4 separate regions of the Homo sapiens genome follow, and regions 1, 2 and 3 are each linked to region 4. Evidence: promoter capture Hi-C in 16 types of primary human blood cells and fetal thymus (Javierre and others, 2016). All regions are on one chromosome and are shown on one strand. The core of a region is centred on a gene start or on the middle of the fragment in contact, and the rest is flanking DNA. Distances in the headings are between cores, read along the strand shown. Region 1 holds the start of TMEM209 (transmembrane protein 209). Region 2 has its middle 20 kb from the start of SSMEM1. Region 3 overlaps TMEM209 (transmembrane protein 209). Region 4 holds the start of COPG2 (coat protein complex I subunit gamma 2).

Evidence for each region. Contacts are between HindIII fragments. The CHiCAGO score rates a contact against its expected background, and 5 or more counts as called.
Region 1: the fragment with the promoter of TMEM209 here is called in contact with the fragment with the promoter of COPG2 in region 4 in 1 of 17 cell types (fetal thymus); the score reaches 5.3 in fetal thymus.
Region 2: a fragment that was not itself captured here is called in contact with the fragment with the promoter of COPG2 in region 4 in 3 of 17 cell types (megakaryocytes, erythroblasts and M2 macrophages); the score reaches 6.4 in megakaryocytes.
Region 3: a fragment that was not itself captured here is called in contact with the fragment with the promoter of COPG2 in region 4 in 1 of 17 cell types (M1 macrophages); the score reaches 6.0 in M1 macrophages.

Annotation. Positions count from the first base shown.
Region 1 is chr7:130,204,082-130,206,781 of GRCh38, forward strand. It overlaps TMEM209 (transmembrane protein 209), which reads right to left and starts at 1,325. Exons shown (of 15, transcript NM_032842.4): 1 at 1,292-1,325; 2 at 1-29. The coding sequence starts at 1,294. It also overlaps a transcript of SSMEM1 not described here. RefSeq lists a silencer at 1-102 and enhancers at 764-1,563, 1,240-1,419, 1,480-1,589. The HindIII fragment of the contact is 16,046 bases long and covers 1-2,700 here.
Region 2 is chr7:130,226,752-130,229,451 of GRCh38, forward strand. No RefSeq gene overlaps it. Among named protein-coding and RNA genes, the nearest start is that of SSMEM1, 20 kb to the left of the region's middle. The HindIII fragment of the contact is 226 bases long and covers 1,140-1,365 here.
Region 3 is chr7:130,177,871-130,180,570 of GRCh38, forward strand. It overlaps TMEM209 (transmembrane protein 209), which reads right to left. Exons shown (of 15, transcript NM_032842.4): 10 at 532-657. Among named protein-coding and RNA genes, the nearest start is that of TMEM209, 26 kb to the right of the region's middle. The HindIII fragment of the contact is 352 bases long and covers 1,265-1,616 here.
Region 4 is chr7:130,667,372-130,670,071 of GRCh38, forward strand. It overlaps COPG2 (coat protein complex I subunit gamma 2), which reads right to left and starts at 1,377. Exons shown (of 24, transcript NM_012133.6): 1 at 1,261-1,377; 2 at 111-163. The coding sequence starts at 1,297. TSGA13 (testis specific 13) reads right to left here. Exons shown (of 8, transcript NM_052933.4): 8 at 1,272-1,812. The coding sequence ends at 1,643. RefSeq lists an enhancer at 580-689 and silencers at 960-1,549, 1,640-1,749. The HindIII fragment of the contact is 8,378 bases long and covers 1-2,700 here.

The DNA of each region.
Region 1 (2,700 bases), core at 75-2,574, 460 kb before region 4:
GAAGCACTAGGGTGTGCCTCCCCCTGCATCTATGAAAAAACAAAAAGCACAGGAATTAACCAGAAGAAACTATTGCTCCATTTAAAAACCAAATTTTGCATCCCTTATAAAGGTAACTGAAACCGCATATACCTTCTCTCATCTTTAAAATGTTTTATCAAAACTTCTTCCATTTTAATATCAGTATATGAAAAGGGAACCCAAAATTATATGTAACTTAATTGGCATCACAGTGTAATCAACAGAGAAGTGGCTGGTTATTTATCTATTTATTTGTTTTGAGACGGAGTCTTGCTGTCTCCCAGGCTAGAATGCAGTGGCGCGATCTCGACTCACTGCAACCTCCGCCTCCCGGGTTCAAGCGATTCTCCTGCCTCAGACTCCCGAGTAGCTGGGATTACAGACGCCCGCCACCGCGTCCGACTGATTTTTGTATTTTTAGTAGAGACGGGATTTCAACATTTTGGCCAGGCTGGTCTCGAACTCCTGACCTTGTGATCCACCCGCCTCGGCCTCCCAAAGTGTTGGGATTACAGGCGTGAGCCACCGCGCCCAGCCGTGGCTGGTTATTTAAGAACAATTTAATACTTCCAATACATAAAAATGTCTTATTTTGTAATTTAAGGGTTATGTCTAGAAATACTTTGTATTTTGTCTTTGGGGTATGTTACACGGACTAGGCAAAAGGCTAACTTCAGAAACTCAAAATGTCAAGTTTTGGGAGACTATATTCCATATCTGCTGTAAGTCATAAAGACTGTTGTACATCCTCATGCAGACGCCATTACTATCTCAACAACTCTGCACTTGGACAGCTGTACTCCAGGGCTCTCCCTTTTGTGTGTGGATAAAGGACAAGGATCCAAGTTTTAGAAGGGCACGTACTTATGATGGGGTGGTGAGCGGAGTAAGAGGGAGAGAGGGGAAAACGTGCATTGTTTTGGTCCACATTTGGGATTTATAATTCCTCCTTTCTTCAGCTAGGCTCAACTCTTACAGACCGTGCAAAACTTGTTCCAGCGACAAGCAGTCGTATCCCACAGAGGACAGAGCAATAGCTTTCGCGCCACTCAGCCCCCGCGTCCCAATTTCCCAGTCCAGAGCTTCCCTCCCCGGCTCCTGGGCACGAACTTCAGCAACCCTATTGCTTCTTTCTTCCCTTCCCCTAGAGAGGCGGAACGCCTAGCCACATCCCCCTTGGCTGAACCCAGGACAGATCAGCAGGCGCGGAACTCCCACAACCCGCGTAGATTCCAAGACAGGAAGCACAAACACGACCCCGAAAACGCACCATGTCCTCTGGCCGGAAAACGCAGGCTCGCGCCACTCTCTCTGGGCATGCGCAAAGCCAAGCTCAAGCGGGAGGCCACCGGCAAGCGGCTCTAAAGTTACCGGAAGAACTAGGTAGTCTCTTCTCGCGAGAAAGGGAGGGGTCGCAGGCCCAGGCGCTCGGAGCGTTACCAGGGAAACAGGTCTCGGTTTTGCGGCTCCCACTCAGCTGCGGGAGAAAGCTAAGCAGCAAAATTCAGACCAGGCTCTGAACCCGCAGTAAAAAGTAATAATTGTAACAAGCTGAATTTTGTATCTATTAATATAATTTTAGCTTCCCTAGGGCATTTATGGACTCACATGTGTAAACTGATTAAGTAGGGCGGCTCACCGTAGGATAGAGTGGCGTGATAAAGTGGCCAGACACCATCAGTGACAAAGCATTTCTTTCCCCTGTGTTAAAGTATCTATGTCAAGAGTCCTGACCCCATGTAATTTTTTTTTTGGTAGAGACAGGGTTTCGCCATGTTGGCCAGTCTGGTCTCGATTTCCTAACCTCAAGGGATCCGCCCGCCTCAGCCTCCCAAACGCCTGCTGGCCTCCCACCGCCTTTTGGGATTACAGGCGTGGCCCACCGCGCCCGGCCTAAATTCTTAATCTGTTTAATAGGGTGCAGCAATAACAAGCACACCCAAAATTTGTTTTATTGAAGTTGCTAGTGGTTTTGAGGTTAAAAATAATAACACATTTTCGTATGTATTTTTTGGAAGAGCTGCTCATCCTGAGGAAAAGGTTGAGCTTTGTTTTATTTAGCACAAATACCTACAAGTGTGCCGCTGAGCCAGGCGCACGGATATAGAAAATAAGACCTTCCTGGTTATTACCCAGAGGAGCTCAACCCCAGCGGAGGCCCACAGATGCATTTCGGTGGCAGGTGAGGTGGATGCAGTGCTCCCCAAGGAGGCGCATCCAGCCCAGCCCCAGCTCTCGCGAGCTTCCTGGAGGAGATGACGCGTTAGAGTCCACAGCCAGAAACCCAGGGCCTGGGGACTTGTTCTGAAGTGTGCCTCCTAATAAAAACATTAAGCCATGCCACAGTAAGCTAGTGGATTACATCATGTATGTCCAATGGCCAAAGTTTTTCCTAAAATGATCCTAAGATTAATACCACGTGGTATTGTATATTAATGAAAATCGGCAGGTATGCTGTGCTCTTGAAGAGCTGTTAAGTTTTATCATTTTTAGATTGCTTTAGCAGCAATGTTGTTTTGCTCTAGTTTTAGATTTAGAGATGAACTAACTGGAAAATTGTTCAAAGTGAAAGGGCTCAAGGTGCAATCAAAATTAGAATACCGGCCGGGCGCGGTGGCTCACGCCTGTAATCCCAACACTTTGGGAGGCCGAGGCGGGCGGATCACGAGGTCAGGAGAT
Region 2 (2,700 bases), core at 3-2,502, 440 kb before region 4:
GGATCTGGGTTCAGACCGCATGGGGAGTAAGAACTCTGATGTGAGTGGGCTACCTTGCTCCATCATCCCAGGACATGGTGAACCATAGAAAGAGGAGCAAAACCATGGTCAGGTACAGATCTGGTGAGAAGAGACGGTTATGAAAGTGGGACTGCAGACACTAGTCATGGCTGGATGTTGCTTTTGTGCAGAGTCTGGTGTGGGCTCTACACCAAGCTGAACACCATCAAGAAAACCTGATAGCAACTACGACTCTTCCCCAGTGCCACTCCTTTATCTAATGAAGGAGTGCTATCTTCCAACACATTCTAGAAGTAGTACTTTGAAAATGACAACCCATTAGCAGATTGTGAAATAAATTTAGTGGGTCATGATTCGCATTTATTAAATAATAAACAGAAAGTTGGTTGGGTGTGGTGGCTTACGCCTATAATCCCAACACTTTGGGAGGCCAAGGTGGGCGGATTACTTGAGGCCAGAAGTTCGAGACCAACCTGGCCAACATGGCGAAACTCTGTCTCTATTAAAAATACAAAAATTAGCCGGACATGGTGGCACACGCCTGTAATCCCAGTTGCTTGGGAGGCTGAGGCAGGAGAATCATTTGAACTTGAGAGGCAGAGGTTGCAGTGAGCTGAGATCATGCCATTGCACTCCAGCCTGGGCAACAGAGCAAGACTCTGTCTAAAAAAAATAAATAAATAAAAATAATAGAAAGTAATAGCATATCACACATAACAAGGGTAAGTATTATTAAGTGTGTGTGTACTGAATTGCAATGTAAAATGTATTTCTTATTATGTGTGATAAGAGAAAAGGGCTGAGCACAGTGGCTCACACCTATAATCTCAGCATTTTAGGAAGCTGAGGCAGGAGGATCACTTGAGCCCAGGAATTAGAGACCAGCCTGGGCAACATAGTGAGACCCCTGTCTCTAGAAAAATATTTAAAAATAGAAAAAAAAAAGATAAAAACAAAAGTCACTGCTCTAGAGTAGTTTTCTTTGTAGATTTTCCTGTATCATCTAGCAATACCACTAAATTAGTGAAGGCACTATCACTCCATGCTTTCCCAATTGTCTGCTAGGAATTAGTAAATCCTCACCCACACTATAGGATGGACCGTCTCAATTAGTGAAAAGCTTGAATTAAATTATACTACTTTAAAAGAACTTCAGGTTTATTATTTTCAAATACAAAAAGTGGAAGCAAGCTAACCAACTGTTGCCTGGTACACAGGGGTGGGTTTTGGCTTGGTGAATAGACAAGAGTTATTTGTAATTGACATTTCAAAGAAGCCTAAGAAACAGGCCAGCCTTTGTTTAAATCATAATTACCCTGTTTGTATGTAAAAGAATACTTCTAAAGCTTTTCAAAACAACTGGTTCTTTTAAGCAGATAATTATTCCCCTTCCAATCTTGTTTACACTACTATTCAGAACTTCAGTGAACTTTTTTTTTCATAGATAGTACAAAGGTTAACTTCAGCAAACCCTTCCTCAAATTATCACAAATTCCCAATTAGTGGATTCTAAACAGGGTTTCCTTGTAACAATATGCCGAAGACTTGCATGATGTGTTTTTTATTGCTTTGAATAACATCTGACAAGTTTCCAAGTACCAGGCCACCTGGATATTCTCTATCTGTCAGGAAAAGATAGAGGTCAAAGAGGTGGGTGGGAGGGTGGGGGAAATATAAATCAGGCCCATACATTCCTATACTATTAGAGGAAGACAAAAGGAAGAAAATGCTTTTTTCCCCCCCAAATATCTATTACATACCAACTGAATCTTAAATAATAGGCACTTTTTGGTGTAAAGAAGAGTTGCACTTACCATCTAAATTTAACAAAACCTCAGATGAAAATAGAAAGCTGACCTTTTTTGTATGTAGACTGGCAGTTATTGGAGAGGCCCAGGGAAGTTGGCAAGAGAAAGATGCATTATAAATAAATTATACTTGTCCTTTCTCGTTATTTCTTATTGCAAATTTCCACTCAGTGCACAAAGGGATAATGCATGAAATCCTTTTTTTAAACAAAAATTTTATGATCCTGAGCAATACTGTTTTCCAGTTCTTTCATCTTCTGAGCTCGGCCTTTTTCACAAGCTGTTCCTCAAGCCGCCTTATTGCAGGGGCCTGTTGTCTCTAATTGTCTTTGTTTATTAGGGCCCTCTGTCACCATGAAGTTTCACGTGTTCAAATCTTGATTTAGCAGTGAGAACACCAGGCTGAGAGCTAACTCTGCTACTAATTAGTGTAAATCACAAAAGGAGAAGTGGAGAGATAAAAACCAGGTCCTAGTGGAAGGGTCTACAGCCAGGGTTAGTAAGACTGACTGGCAGGTCAGAGGATTGAGGAAGAGACGAAAGGGCTTGGAGAAATGCCACTTAGGGTCAGCGTCTTTTTGTCTCTTTTCTCTGATTGTACCCCTTCAGATACAGAAAGGGTCTGAAGTAGCCTATGTTGATTCTTTTCCTTTCTTCCATTTTGTTCCATTGTTCCTGCTCTCTTACATGATTTACGGTTAAGTTCTGATTGGTCTAAGCCAAGCCTGGTGGTGCCATTCTCCTGGTCCATGAGTGGCTCAAGGGTGGGCATGTAATCTCATTCTGGGAAGGGAAGTTTGCTGGGGGGAGCATTCAGAGAAAAAAGTTTGTTCAGTCTTTCTTTAAAAAGACATGTGGAGAAGAGAAATAG
Region 3 (2,700 bases), core at 191-2,690, 490 kb before region 4:
CAATTTGAATACTATTTCTAAAACTTGTCTTAGTGATGAGAATCTTTTAAAAAGTTTATCCAAATTTTAAAAAATTCTAACGTTATGAATTGCTCTGTAAGTAGAGAGGCACAGAGGGTGTATGGGGGTGTCAGGGAGCCTACATTTCCTGATTCTCAAGTCAGTCTCCTCAGGAGAGCACATCTTCCACCAAATAATAAGAATATCACAGAAATATAAGGAAGAAACTTATTAAATAGGAATTATAAAAATTAAGAGAAATAAGGCTCAGCACACCGGAACTATAAAGAATGTCATAATGGCACCCATTCTTATGAGTCTAAAAGTAGGAAATGAGTGAAATAGTCACTGGAGCCCATTTAGCTCATATTTAAGTTTCCTACACAAAATAAAGTTATTAAGCTATAATTAATACGTATTTATAAGACATGTTATACTTTTAATTAAAAGTTTTTCCTTGTTAATCTTCACTGATAAAATTCCAGCATAGTAAAAAAGCTCTTATTTTTTTCTCTTCAAATCAATAATTACCTTTGATCCTTTCAAACAAGTATTCCTGATTTGGAGTAAGGTCTAGATACTGAACGATTGTGTTCAAAGTCGGAATGAGAGGCGCTTTAACCAGGGCAGCTTGTTTCAAGCTAGTAATACTAGCCTCTGTTAACATAAAACACAGAGAACACTGATTATTCTAAAAGTGAGTTTCCAAAAGAACTTAAAATGCTCTTCTCATGTGTTCATACAGCTGGTTCCTCACTACCTTCAGGTCTTCATACAAGTCAATGACGTCTCCCCTGACGACCCTACCTCAAATTTCACCCCTCCTCTCTAAACATTAATAACATTACCCTCCTGTGCTTTTTTCCTCCTTAGCACTAACCACTGTCCAATGTACTTTTTTTCTTCTTCTCTTTTTGTTTTTTGAGACAGTGTCTTGCTCTGTCACCCACGCTGGAGTATAGCGGCACAATCACCACTCACTGCAGCCTCAATCGAATGGGCTCAAGCAATCCTCCTCCCACCTCAGCCTCCTAAGCAGCTGGGACTACAGGCACATGCCACCACACCTGGTTCACTTTTTTTCTTTTTTTCTATTTAGTAGAGACAAGGTCTCACTATATTGCCTAGGCTGGTCTCAAACTCCTGGGTTCAAGCAATCCACCAACGCTGGACTCCCCAAGTGTTGAGATCACAGGTGTTAGCCATCGTGCCTGGCCCAAAGTACTTTATCTTTTTTATTGTCTATCTCATTTACTAGAATGAAAGCTTAATGAAGGCAGGGACTTTGGCCATTTTGCTCACTGCTGTATCCCCCAGTGCCCAGAATAGTATTAACACCTGGAACAGACTAGGCACTCAATGTCGAAGGAATAAATGAAAGAAAGCATTTTAATTTGCACGATCTACATTACCTAGAACCATTCCCAGCAAGATAGCCAGATTTACACATGCAACACCCCCTCCTCCCCTTCCCCAGAGAAGCAGCCAAATCGATTTTGGCAAATCTATAAACAACTAATATACAGAAAATTTGTATAAGACATGTATAAAAAGACACACAATTGTTTTCAAAATAAGTTGAATTAGAAGTTGCCCATTATGCCAGGACAAGCAGAAGCTTTTTATGGTAGTGATTTCTTTTATCATATCCTGCAAGATAACTATGCATAGAAATGTAAAAAGCAATTAAAAATTTCAAAATATCCAACTGTACTAGCAATATCCAATGTTAGGAAAAACATTCCTATATGTGTCATGGTTGCTAGAGTACAAACTGGTAAAAGCTTTTTGGAGAGATGTGTATCTTCTAAGCCTTGAAATATATCCAGATGCATTGGCTCATGTCTGTAATCCTAGCACTTTGGGAGGCCAAAGTGGAGGGAGTGCTTGAGCTCAGGAGTACAAGACCAACCTGGACACCCCATCTCTACAAAAATACAAAAATCAGCCAGGTGTGGTGGTGTGTGCCTGTAGTCCCAGCTACTTGGATGCGGCTGAGGTGAGAGGATCTCTTGAGCCCAGGAGGCTGAGGCTGTAGTGAGCCATAATAGCACCACTGCATTCCCTCTTGGGCAAAAGAGCGAGACTCTGTCTAGAAAACAATAACAAAAATCTTAAAATATTCACACCTACTGACACACAAGTCTACTTCTAAGAAATTATCCTAAAGAAATAATTACAAATGTATACAAAGATTTAGGTAAGAGGATATGCACCGTAGCATTATTGGTAAAGGTAATTACTTAATAACTAAGTTATAGTATATATATTTTAGGCAATTTATATGGCACCCTAAAATTTTACCTTTAGCAGATAAGAGAGTTGAAAATAGGTGATGGAAAATTACTATTATTACATAGTCTTTATGCTTTATACAACTTTGTGATTAATATCTGCTAAGAGTCTTGGGCTTATATCTAGAATATATAAAGAAAACATCTACCACTCAACAAAAAGACAAATAACCAAATTTAAAAATGGGTAAAGGAATCAAAAAGACATTTCTTTTTTTTTTGAGACAAAGTCTCAAAGTCTCGAAGTCTCGCTCTTGCCCCCCAGACGATCTCGGCTCACTGCAACCTCCGCCTCCAGGGTTCAAGCGATTCTCCTGCCTCAGCCTCCCGAGTAGCTGGGATTATAGGCGCCTGCCACCATGCTCGGTTAATTTTGTATTTTTAGTACAGACGGGGTTTTCACCAT
Region 4 (2,700 bases), core at 127-2,626:
TGTTACGTTTCTTGTTTTGCATGTCGTGATCACAGCAGCCCAGGGATTCTCTGCCCACCACTCTAAAACAGAATAGAAAAGAAAGGGCACAAGATACTTCCCAGTCATACCTCCTGTAAAACAGCACTCTTCTCCAGATGCTGGAAAGGATTGGAGCCACTACCTATTTATAAAACAAAACAAAAAAATGTCCTGAACAGCTGTTCTACACAAACTTATATACTTTCCAGAGAAGGGTACTGAATGCTTGGGAAGTGAACACTTGGATGGCACAGTGATAATCATGGCTAATACGCATACGAACTGAATGAAATCATTTTGATCCCGGCTCTGTCACTGCCATACTCGAAGAGCTGAGACTTCTCTTTCGCAGCAACCCTCTCCAAAATGAGTGTCTTCTTTCCCTGCCCTCTTTTTCCATGAATGTTAAAAATGTGTCATTTCCACAACAACGAAGATTAATGAGATTGTAGTAGGGTGCTTTTGATTTCCTTAGGTAAGCAGTATTTTATGTGTTTCTAACACTTAAGGAGAGGCAGAAACGAAGTTTCCCAGAGAATCATGCAGGCGTAAAGGTGCAAGAGGCCATGGAGGTTGACTAACCCAACCCCCTCTCACACTGTGGGAGATGCTACCAAACACTGAGAATTTTTTTCTTTTTGAGGATGCTTGGCATCTTCCCCATTTGCTCTGGACCAAAGACGGGCATCAAGACGCAGGTCACTTCTGGACACCTGAGCATTCAACGAGCTGTGTCCCACGGGACAGTCTTGCCCCCGGGGACCTGGACAGAGCCGGTGACCCCAGGAAAACGATAAGGTACCAGGCACCTGAACGTTCCTCCACACACACCCTGTGCCGTCGACCCCAGCCCCGGGAACAGGGTGCTCCCACTAGGGGTCCGACCCTACCAGCACCCCTGGACGCGGAGACGCGCGCACGCCCTCGGCCCCCGCCGGAGGCCCGCGCGCAGGGGAGGAGGCGGCTCGGAGGGGCTGCGCCGCAAGAGGGGCGGGAACGGGGCGCGCGCGGGCGCCGGGGCGGGAGCGCGCGGCCCGAAGGGAGGCTCCGGCGCCCGGGGGAGGGGCTACGGGCAGGCCCCGGGCAGCCGCGAGGGGAGGGGAGGGGCCGGCTCCAGCTCCGGCCCCCTGGCACGGCGGCGCCCACGCCCCCAGCCCCGCCGGCCTGAAAGCAGGTGGCGGCGGGCGGGGGAAGGGGCGTCCCGCGGCTGAGGGTGGGCCTCGGAAGCCCCGCGCGTACCAGACTCCTCGTCCTTCTTGTCGAATTTTTTAATCATCTTGGACGACTTCCCAGCGCCCAGACCCACCGCAACCGTCCCAGGCGCCGCAGCCGGCGAGCGGAAGAGGCTGCAGGAAGGCCGGCCCCGCGCTCTCACGCCGGTTGGGCCGCCGCGCCTTCACTCGGGGCCAAGGCCCGCCCTCCCCGGCCGCCCTCGGCCCCCGGGACGCAGCCACGCCCCCTTCTCCTCTTGCGGCCCGCCGGAGACTTCGGCTCGACCCTCCCGGCTTGCGACCCGGGAGCCCACGCCCGCAGCAGCAGGAATGTGGTTTTATTTGGGTGGCGACTTCTGCGGACCCCTCAGTCTCAAGAGAGCGAGGCGGGAGGACTGAGGGGTCTGTGTTCACCCGATGACCGTGGCCTTTTTGATAATCCACTGCGGGGCCCTCCCGTTGCGGAAGGCGCTCTCCCCGGGCGCGGTTCTGGTGGGCATGTCTTCCAAGAGCGATGCGAGTGTCAGTGGTTCCCGAATCACTTTGGAAATTGGCCTTTCACTCGCTGACTTCTTGGAAGCTACGACAAAGCACAGGCACCCTGGTGAATGTGGCTTTTCAGAAGTACTCGAAGGATACTTAATGTGAGATGTAAAGGAGACGCACTTGGAGGGACCAGAGGCTGGTCTTTAGAGGGTAGATTTTGGACCGTGTAATACCATTCCCAACCTATTTTATAATTTTTGGATTCCTTCATTTCATCAAAACCCAGTGGAAAATTCATTGCCAGTTTAGAGTCTTCCTTGTTCAAGCCTATTTCTTTCAATGATTCCATCTGAAACCATATTGACACTTAAGAAACTCACTAAATTAACGTGCATTCATTCCTAACTCATGTTCCTCTTTTTCTCAGAGTGTATGCTGGCTTTCTGTTCTCTTGTCTAAGAGTGTAGCTAAGAAACTTTGTCTGCCTTTGGCTTCACTGGCATAACTTGTTTAGAAATGTAAATTGGGTCTATACTCAACAGGATCGTGCCCCTGCAAAATTAGAGAAATTCTAACCTAGATTACATTCTACATCCTAGAGAAATTCTTTCCCTGAAATACAGATTTAAGATGAACTGTTGATATCCTACATATGGTATCATTTAAGATTTAACTCCGACTTGACTAAATGTACTATTAACTACTATGTTTGCTTTATATGGCTTGTAAAGGTCAAGTCATACTTTGTAGGTGGAGTTTTCTTTGAAGGAAATAGAAGTCTGCACTCATTTATTCTGGGGGTGAAAATAAACAGGCTTTGGGGAAGGAAACATCCTCTTCCTCTTCCTTGGCCCAAGGGTATTGGGAACCTAGGCAGAGACAGTGTAGATAATAGGCCCAGAGGTTCTCAAGGTGGGTAATGCCCCGGAGACCTGCTGAGAAGTAGAAGGACCTGAGTTCAGATTTGGGGCTGACCCTAAGA